Regions from separate parts of the Homo sapiens genome. Here regions 1 and 3 are each linked to region 2. The links are contacts of gene promoters, found by promoter capture Hi-C in blood cells and fetal thymus (Javierre and others, 2016). All regions are on one chromosome and are shown on one strand. Each heading gives the region's core, a stretch centred on a gene start or on the middle of the fragment in contact. The rest is flanking DNA. Distances are from core to core; before and after follow the strand shown. Region 1 overlaps FPR3 (formyl peptide receptor 3). Region 2 holds the start of DPRX (divergent-paired related homeobox). Region 3 has its middle 24 kb from the start of ZNF577.

Region 1 (3,464 bases), core at 580-3,079, 1.8 Mb before region 2:
TTTCTGACTGGGGGCTTTAAATAATTAATGTAACCAATATAAGTCAACTTCCTCATGTGTACAATGGTTATACTAATTAAAACTAAGGTTAGTCAATATTCACCGTGTCTCAAGGTGTGCTCAGTGCTCACACAGATTAACACGTCTCATCTGCAGAGGCTGTGAGAGCAGTTGTTAGGGTTAAAGGAGAAGCTCTTGGCATGTGAGTAATGTTCATAAGTAGTAGCCACTATTGCTATGAGCATTGTTCTTGTCCTGACCTTGAGCTTCAAAAGGCACGACCCAGGATTGAGCCCCATGACACAGCACACAGCCTGGTGAGGACCAGAAGTTCCCATTTGTCACAGACACTCAGTCTAGCCTAGAAGATTTCCATGTCCAGTCTCACTTAATCCTCACCTGAAAGTTAGACTTCACCACAAAACTGTCCTTGTTCTGCAGAGGAGAAAACTGAGGCTCAAAGAGATATCACTGACCAAGAACCCATATTGGCAAGGTGCCAACGATAAGAGTAGCGATCTAACTGACCCCAAAGCCCAGTGTTCTTTACTCTGTAACAGTGATGCTCAACTGGGGGGAGTTTTGCCTCCCACGGGACCTTTGACAATGTCTATAGACACTTTCAGTTGTCACTCCTGAAGGGGGAGTTGCTACTAGCATCGGTGGATAGAGGCCAGGGGTGTTGCTAAATATCCTACTGTGCACAGAACAGTCCCCCACAACAAAGAATTACACAGCCCCAATTGTCTGTAGTGCCAACGTTGAGAAACCTTGAGCTACATTAAACAATGTCCCATGAAAGACCTCAGTGAAAGTGACTGGTAATGACAGGAAGAAAAGAAGGAAGAGAGAAAGGGAAAGGAGGAAAAAACCATGATACTAGGGTATGACCACATGCTGGAAATATCTGGGGAACTCCTTTCAAATGCAGCATTTTAGAGTTGCAACGGTAGTGGCTCTAAAGTTGCTCATCCTGAATTTCAAATCTTGCTGCCTCCACTGACCGGCTGGACATGATGCTGAAAAAAAAAAACCTACAAAAACCCCAAGGCCATGAATTCCCTCTGGTACAAAAAGGGGTAATGATGGCTGCCCACAATGTTATTATGAGTATTATTTGTGAACAAGTGCTGTATAATTGCTGTTACTTTTAGAGAGGCTGGATATCCCAAGGTAGGAAGAGTCTCTAATTTTCCTGGCCATAAAAATCACTGTAGCTTTTACACAGAGAGATTCTAGAGTTGGGTTCATGAATATGCATTTTAACAAATACCTTGGATGTTTCTGATACAGCCCACAGACCACAGTATAAGCAAATTTGGTCAAGTGGCAAAGACACAAGGGACACAGAGACCTTTGGGTTGAGTTGGATGCAACAGCTTCCCATGTGACCTGGTGCAGAGGCAGGGACTGTAATTTTGTGATTCTGTTTCTTAAAAGCAAGGAAATAGATCCCAGAAAGATGCCAGGATATCCTCCCATAGTGTTATTGCCCAGAATTTAGTCATGTTTCCACCAATAAAGCAATCCCTTGCAAAGCAAAAGGAATTCTAGTTAGAACAAATTAGAAAATCAAGATATGCCCGCAAAGATGGAGGAGGGATACCTTCCCCCAAAAGAGTGAGTAACTGAACAAAATTGCGATTTGATTTGCAGAGAAGAAATGAGGAACAGTTATTTGTGGGGGGAGGGGGCATCACCAGCAATATCTGTCAGAATTGTTGCATAGAGAAAGGGCTTAGAAGTCAGACTAAGCTAGATTAAAGATCTTTGTCTACTGTTTCCTACTTAAGTGACCAGCAGATTTCACAATTGCTCTCAACATTGAGTCATTCCTGTGGAAACTACAAACAATGAATATTACAGAGCTACTATGCAGACCAAACTACAACCCATATGTAGCAATTAACACAGTGAATAGTCTCTGATAAGAACCCTACAAATACTAGCTAAATATTCATGCTCATTCTGTTTATCCCACAGACCTTGAAGATATACAACGGATGCTAAGTAGGGACAATGAAAAGCAGACGGGAGAAAGTAAATATAGGGCCCTCTTTGTTGACTTCATCTAGCACAGAATCTATAGGATGTAATATATTTCTGCTCTTTTTTTTTGTGGGGGGAAATGGAATCTACTCTGACATCCAGACTGAAGTGCAGTGGCACGATCTTGGCTCACTGCAACCTCTGCCTCCCAGGTTCAAGCAATTCTCCTGCCTCAGCCTCCTAAGTAGCTGGAGTTACAGGCTCTTGCCACCACACCTGGCTAATTTTTGCATTTTTAGTAGAGATGGAGTTTCACCATGTTGGCCAGGCCAGTCTCCAACTCCTGATCTCAAGTGATCCACTCTCCTCAACCTCCTAAAGTGCTGGGGTTACAGGCATGAGTCACCACGCCCGGCCTATAGCATGTAATATATGTCTATATATTACAAGTAATGGTTCAAAATCCTCTTCAGCTAACTCAATCCAAACCCTAAAACTTCAAATTAAATATCAACTAAAAAATAGGTCAAGGGTCCTCACAGTGGGAGGGACAGGAGCTGGGAGACTGGGAGAGCATGGGGCCGAAAGAAGTTGCAGAGCTTGCCAGCATGTTTGCATTGAGTGATGGAGGCCACAGATGTGAACCTTCTGACTCTGAGTCTTGTGCCTTCCTCACGAAGCTGAAGCTGCCTATGCTCAATTTTCCATTGTCCATACACTCTCAGTTCAGTATTTCCGCTGGTGGACAGAGCCCTTTAATCCTCTTGGTAATCAGCTTGATAGGTGGCATGCATATTAATAATGATGGGAATATAGAGAACTATCGTTTCCCAAAGGAACTCCGAGAGAGTGCCAATTTTATGTTATAACCATTCACAAGGCTCACTGGGGAGGGTCTGCTGGTAGGAGGAGGAGCTACAGTGGAAGTTAATGAATAGTTGTATTGTAAGATGGTGTCACAGCTGAGAAATGGCCATTGCTGAAATGTTTCAGGTGTGGGAAGATGGAAACCAACTTCTCCATTCCTCTGAATGAAACTGAGGAGGTGCTCCCTGAGCCTGCTGGCCACACCGTTCTGTGGATCTTCTCATTGCTAGTCCACGGAGTCACCTTTGTCTTCGGGGTCCTGGGCAATGGGCTTGTGATCTGGGTGGCTGGATTCCGGATGACACGCACAGTCAACACCATCTGTTACCTGAACCTGGCCCTAGCTGACTTCTCTTTCAGTGCCATCCTACCATTCCGAATGGTCTCAGTCGCCATGAGAGAAAAATGGCCTTTTGGCTCATTCCTATGTAAGTTAGTTCATGTTATGATAGACATCAACCTGTTTGTCAGTGTCTACCTGATCACCATCATTGCTCTGGACCGCTGTATTTGTGTCCTGCATCCAGCCTGGGCCCAGAACCATCGCACCATGAGTCTGGCCAAGAGGGTGATGACGGGACTCTGGATTTTCACCATAGTCCTTACCT
Region 2 (3,295 bases), core at 542-3,041:
ATCTCAAAAAAAAAAAAAAAAACTTTCATGCTGATCAGTAGTGGAATCAGCTTGTGAATTGCCCTCCAGCCTGAGCAACACAGACTGCCTCTTACTAATCCCAGCACTTTGGGAGGCTGAGGTGGGAGGATGGCTTGTGCCTAAGACTTTGAGACTAGCCTAGCCAAAATCCCTTCTCTACAAAAAATGCAAAAATTAGCTGGGTATGGTAGTGTGCACCTGTAGTCCCAGTTACTCAGGAGGCTTAGGTGAGAGGCTCACCTAGGCCCAGGAGGTTAAGGCTGCATTGAGCTATGATTTTGCCACTGCACTCCAGGCTGGGCCTAGGCCTTTGTAGTCACAGCTACTTGGGGGCAAATGTAGGAGGATCACTTGAGCCCAGTAGGTCGAGGCTGCAGTCAGCTGTGTTTTTTGAGACATAGCAAGACCCTGTCTCAAAAAGAAAAAAAAAAGTAGCTACAAGCTCATTTATGCAAAGGCTAACCACTGTCACAAGTAGAGATGTGCAGAACTGAGATTCAAATGGATGGAATGGCAAGAAAAACTGCCACTTCTGTGAACCTGAAGTCAAACTGCCCTTGTCGTCAAGATAAAAGGTATACATGGTGTGAGCCTGGGCATCTGAAAGGTGTTGCAGCTTTTTCTTTTATTTTTTTGAGATGGAGTCTCACTCCTGTCACCCAGGCTGGAGTGCAGTGGTGCGATCTCAGCTCACTGCAACCTCTGCCTCCTGGGTTCAAGCAATTCTCCTGCCTCAGCCTCCTGAGTAGCTGGGATTACAGGTGCCCACCACCACACCCAGCTAATTTTCGTATTTTTAGTAGAGATGGGGTTTCGCCATGTTGGCCAGGCTGGTCTCGAACTCCTGACCTCAGGTGATCCGCCTGCCTCAGCCTCCCAAAGTGCTGGGATTACAGGTGTGAGCCACCTGTAATTAGCCAGGCTTGGTGGTGGGTGCCTGTAATCCCAGCTACTGGGAAGGCTGAGGCAGGAGAATTGCTTGAACCTGAGAGGCGGAGGTTGCTGTGAGCCGAGATCGTGCCACTGCACTCCAGCCTGGGTGACAGAGTGAGACTCCATCTCTAAATAAATAAATAAATAAATAAAATGAGATGATTTCTGAGTGAGTTAACTAAATCAGGATATGCAGAACAATGCCAAGCATATATTAGCCACTAAAGAATATATAAGTTGCCTGAAAGCCCCTTTAGGGTTTAAACCTGGACTTCATTATTCACAATCACATTCCCGGTCCCCATTACGGAGCCTGGTCACCTGGGTGCTTGTTAGATATGGAAATCATCAGATCCCACCCCAGACCGAGTCAGAAACGTTGAGGGCAGGAGTTCAAGACCAGCCTGGCCAACATGGCGGAAACTCCGTCTCTACTAAAAATACAAAAATTAGTCAGGAGTGGTGGCACAGGCCTGTGATCTCAGCTACTCGGGAGGCTGAGACATGAGAATCCCTTGAACCTGGGAGGCAGAGGCTGCAGTGAGCCAAGATGGTGTCATTGCGCTCCAGCCTGGGTGACAGAGTGGGACTCTGTCTCAAAGAAAAAGAAAAAAAGAAAAGAAATTGCAGCTTCTGCTCAGGAAGTCTGGAGTGGGCCAGGATTCTGCATTTTAACAACTCCCAGGAGTGTTAGTGGGGCTGGTTTGTGGACTCGCCTTTGAGTCGTTGGTCTCCGCTCAATCAATATTAGATAAAATGACAGTATTGGGAGAAATCCAGGGGGCTCTGGAGGACCGAGGGATCATATTGGAGGCAGATAGGGCAGAGAAAGGTGGAGGAGGTGGGAGTCGGGTGTGGCTGTGGAGGAAGCTACTTAAATCCGGATTTGATCTTTGCTAGTTCTTATCCCTGGACCTGAACCCAGGCGCACATCTGGATTAGAAGATGCCAGGCTCAGAGGATCTTCGTAAAGGTAAGCCAGAAAAAATGAGAACCGAAGCAAAGACACGTGAAGAAGTGGAAAGCAGCTGGCGGCGGGAAAAGGCAGAGGGACCAGGCGGCCGAAGCTGGTGCTTCGTCCACGTGGGTGGCAGGGACTTCCCACAGAGGCTGTCATCGTTTTTGTTGTTGTTGTTTTGTTTTGTTTTGTTTGTCTTTTGAGACAGTCTCACTCTGTCGCTCAGGCTGGAGTGCAGTGGCACGATTTCGGCTCACTGCAACCTCCACCTCCCAGGTTCAAGCAATTCTCCTGCCTCAGCCTCCCGAGTAGCTGGGATGACAGGCACACGCCACCACACCTGGCTAATTTTTTTTTTTTTTGTATTTTTAGTAGAGCCGGGGGTTTCACCATATTGACCAGGCTGGTCTCGAACTCCTGACCTTGTGATCCGTCTGGCTCAGCCTCCCAAAGTGCTGGGGTGACAGGCGTGAGCCACTGCACCCGGCCCAAGTTTTGTATCTTTATAGAGATGGGGTTTCACCATGTTAGCTAGGTTGGTCTCAAGCCCCTGACCTCATGTGATTGGCTGGCCTCGGCCTCCCAAAGTGCTGGGATTACAGGCATGAGCCTCGGTGCCCGGCCGCGGCTGTCATCTGACAGCACAGGCAAATGCAGGGAAGCCTGTTTCTGCCTTCAAATCCGAAATCTTCTCCCTCGTAGTTGTGTCCTAATTCTTCCCACCCCGATGCTTGTTCTTGAGCACAGGGGAATCTGATTCCTATGAGGATGATTAGGTCCTAGATAGAATATAGGCTTAGCCAAGCTGGAAATCTCATGTTCATGAGCACTTACTAGACTCTGGAGCTGCTGCCAAACCATTTTCAGGCATGATGCGATTCAGATCTTTTAGAGCGAGGCATGCGGTGGCTCATGCCTGTAATCCCAGCACTTTGGGAGGCCGAGGTGGGCAGATCGCTTCAGCCCAGGAGTTCAAGACCAGCCTGGGCAACAAAACAAGACGTTGTCTCTACAAAAAATACAAAAATTAGCCGGGCATGTCAGTGTTGTGTAGTTCCAGCTACTCGGGAGGCTGAGGTGAGAGGATCGCTTGAGCCTGGGGAGGTTGAGGCTGAAGTGAGCTGTGATCATGCCACTGGGCAACACAGCAGTACACTGTCTCAAGAAAAAGAAAGTAAAAGGTGACATCCGTGACAGCAGTGATGTTATTTTTCTGCTTATTTCCTTGCTATATTCCTAAAAGAATATACTTAATGAACATTGAATAAATGATAAGAATAAAACCATGTCCATCCATTTCACCTTGGATTGAGTTGCCTATTTCTACACAAAGAAAATAGAACCCAAGAGGTAAGGCACAAGCGATCCCTTATTTACGTATTT
Region 3 (3,133 bases), core at 119-2,618, 1.8 Mb before region 2:
GTGTGAATTGGCTGATGAGTCATGAGATATACCTTACTGGAGAAGGCCCTATCACAGTCTGAGCATTCATATGATTTATTTCCTATATGAGTTCTCTGATATACAATGAGATTTCCCTTTGATGTGAAGGCTTTATCACATACATTGCATTTGAAGGGTTTCTCACCTGTATGGGTTCTCTGATGTATAACAAAGTTTTTTTTGGAGGATAAAACCTTCCCACATTCACTGCATTCATGGGATTTCCTTACTGCATGATGAGTTTTCTTATGATTGTTGAGATCCAACTTCCAGATGAAAGCTTCTTGACATTCACTGCATCCATAGGGTCTTTCTTCTGTATGAATTCACTGATGCTTCATAAGCTGAGCCTTTTTCAAGAAGGCTTTCTCATAATCCAAGCAAGCATATGGTTTCTCTCCTGTGTGAGTTCTCTGATGTATAGTTAGCTGTGTTCTAACCATGAAGGCTTTATGATAGACTTTGCACCTGAAAGGTCTCTCTCCTGAATGAGTTCTGAGATGCAAAATGAGGTTCGACTTCCAAGGAAAAGCTTTCCCACATTTACTGCATCCATAGAATTTTCCTTTTCTATGAAGAACTTTCTGAGGATAACTGAGCTCAGATCTGGTCTTCAAAGCTGTTTGACATTGAATGCATTAATAGGGTATCTCTCCTGTGTGAATTCACTGATGAATCATGAATAAAGCCTTTTTTGAGAAGGCTTTTTCACAATCTGAGCAAGCATATGGTTTCTCTCCTGTGTGAGCTCTCTGATGTACAGTGAGATGTGTCCTAACCACAAAGCCTTTATCACATACTTTGCAAATGAACGGTCTCTCTCCTGAATGATTTCTTTGACATAAAATGAGTTCTGACTTCCAAGGGAAAACTTCTCCACATTTGCTGCATGTACAGACTTTCCCTTCTCTATGATGAGTTTTCTGATGATACACAAGCCCTGAATTTGTAATGAAGGCTTTTTGACATTGATTGCATCAGTAGGGTCTCACTCCTGTTTGAGTTTGCTGATGAGCAATGAGCTTTAACTCACTGGGAAGGGCTCTCCTAAAATCATGAGATTCCTGGGATTTGTTTCCTGCATGAGTTCTCTGAGGCATGGTCATGAGTAGTTTACAAGTATTCACTGCACATTCACTGCATCCATATGATTTCTTTCCAAAAAGAATTGGTTATAATTAGCAAGCTCTGACTTCTGGATGTTATGAAAGCTAGTGTACGCACAACAGAGTAAGTGAGATAACAAGAAGAGGTCCAGAAAAAGGCTTCTTTTCCCATTTACCATAAAAAGATATTAGTAAGATGGTTAAATTTGAGTAAGCTCTGTATTTTAAATAATAATACTATATCAATGTCAATATTCTGATTTTGATCACAGTATTCTGATTATGCAAAAGAATGCTCTTCTTCCTATGAAATACACACTTGGGTTTTAGGGTAGAGTTCAGAAAAACCATATGTACCTGTGTGTGGTGTGTGTGTATAGATAAAATAAAGCAAATTGGTAAAATCATATTTTGGGGAAATTTGCAAAAAGAATGTGCAAGAATTTTGTGTATCATTTTGGAACATCTCATTAAATCTAGACCATTTGGAGACAAGCATTTTCAAAAGGAGAAAATAAAAATAAAGATATTGATGAAAACATACATAGGGACACTAAGTATAATGGCCTGAATGTAAAAGAGATAAACAGTGTAATATTCACCCAATGCCATTCTGCACAGGACTCAGATTCTTGATCTAGGTGCTGGTTGCACAGTGTGCTGACTAGAAAGTTACCTAGCTGTATAATTACATTATATGTATGTTATACCAAAACATTTTTCATTAATAAGTAAACAAAAACGTTTAGGCCGAAATCAGGGAATGCTCCCTTGTAGGAGGATCCTGAAAAGAATTTGGATCTTGTGCTAACAGTAACAGGATGCCATTACCAATGATAGTGGGAGCAGGATGACATGTCCTGATTTCCAATTTAAAAGCAACATCCTGTGTGTATGTTTATCAGTAATTAACACTGACCATGTCTTAAATATTATGGCATGAATATTTTTAGGCTTGCACCCTGTGAATGAGTACAGATTTGCTACATCATATAGCATTTTTTAGACCATAATTTAGATCTTTCCATCCTCCAACTAAGATTTACCTTTTTATATGAAGCTTTAATTACTTTCCGCAACACTTTTGTCAAAATCTGAAGTCTTTTAAGAACCAAGATGTTTCTGATGTTTATTTTAATGTTCAGGGATTTTGGAGGTGAGGGGCTAGAAACACTGACTCCTGCCCCTGACTCCCGCCCCTGACTCCCGCATTTATTTTCATAAATGAAAATAGTAAAATAAATTCATTAAGGGTATTATGTGGAGAATAGAAACAAGAGTAAAGGACTGAGAGTATATTAGAGAAAACTATCATAATTTTGGCAAGAGATAATGGACATCGAAGCTTGAGTGAAAATAACTGTTAGAGAAAGGAGTAGAGGACCTCGAGATATAAGGAGAAAGTAAAGTCTAAACTTGCTAAATGGACTGGATTTGTGGGATGAGTGAAACGGTGAAGCAAGGATGACTTGAAGTTTGAGTTAGCTATTAGATCTCCAAGCAATTCCCAGGCAAATGTAGGAGGATAAGGAAATATCTAGCCTGTAGAGAGAAATCTGTGAGTCATCAACATATAAATAGCATTGTTAAGTCCATGAAATCGAAGAGGTCACACTGGGAACAAAGAAAAGAAATTACCAATGATGAAGCACCCTTACGCCCTCCAACTCTGAAGGCTTTGGGAGAAGGAGATGCCCAGAGAATGGAAAAAGTCCATCCATCACGCTCAAACAATAAGTACCCAGAAAAGAGGCCAACTTAAGTCTTAGGAACCAACATCTGTGGGAAGCAAGATAAAATGAAGTCTTCTCAGCTCTTCACATAAATGTAAGTGCTGTCACTCTGTTTCAGATTCATTCTTCTTTAATTCTGCATGCAACAGTCAATGAACTTTCCCAAAGATTTTTTTTTTCTTGAGACGGAGTTTCGCTCTTGTCACCCAGGCTGGAGTGCAATGGCGCAATCTCAGCTCACTGCAACCTTCGCCTCTAGGGTTCAAGTGATTC

The links. The method cuts DNA at HindIII sites, captures the fragments that hold promoters and counts their contacts. A CHiCAGO score of 5 or more calls a contact.
Region 1: a contact is called between a fragment that was not itself captured here and the fragment with the promoter of DPRX in region 2, in 5 of 17 cell types (naive CD8 T cells, naive B cells, total CD4 T cells and 2 more). The highest score is 8.8, in naive CD8 T cells.
Region 3: a fragment that was not itself captured here is called in contact with the fragment with the promoter of DPRX in region 2 in 5 of 17 cell types (total CD4 T cells, non-activated CD4 T cells, naive CD4 T cells and 2 more); the score reaches 7.9 in total CD4 T cells.

The regions. Positions count from the first base shown.
Region 1 is chr19:51,820,757-51,824,220 of GRCh38, forward strand. It overlaps FPR3 (formyl peptide receptor 3), which reads left to right. Exons shown (of 2, transcript NM_002030.5): 2 at 2,983-3,464. The coding sequence starts at 2,993. It also overlaps a transcript of ZNF577 not described here. Among named protein-coding and RNA genes, the nearest start is that of FPR3, 27 kb to the left of the region's middle. The HindIII fragment of the contact is 5,603 bases long and covers 1-3,464 here.
Region 2 is chr19:53,630,208-53,633,502 of GRCh38, forward strand. DPRX (divergent-paired related homeobox) reads left to right here and starts at 1,792. Exons shown (of 3, transcript NM_001012728.2): 1 at 1,792-1,927. The coding sequence starts at 1,900. The HindIII fragment of the contact is 17,175 bases long and covers 1-3,295 here.
Region 3 is chr19:51,862,072-51,865,204 of GRCh38, forward strand. It overlaps a transcript of ZNF577 not described here and the pseudogene LOC100419706. Among named protein-coding and RNA genes, the nearest start is that of ZNF577, 24 kb to the right of the region's middle. The HindIII fragment of the contact is 1,634 bases long and covers 552-2,185 here.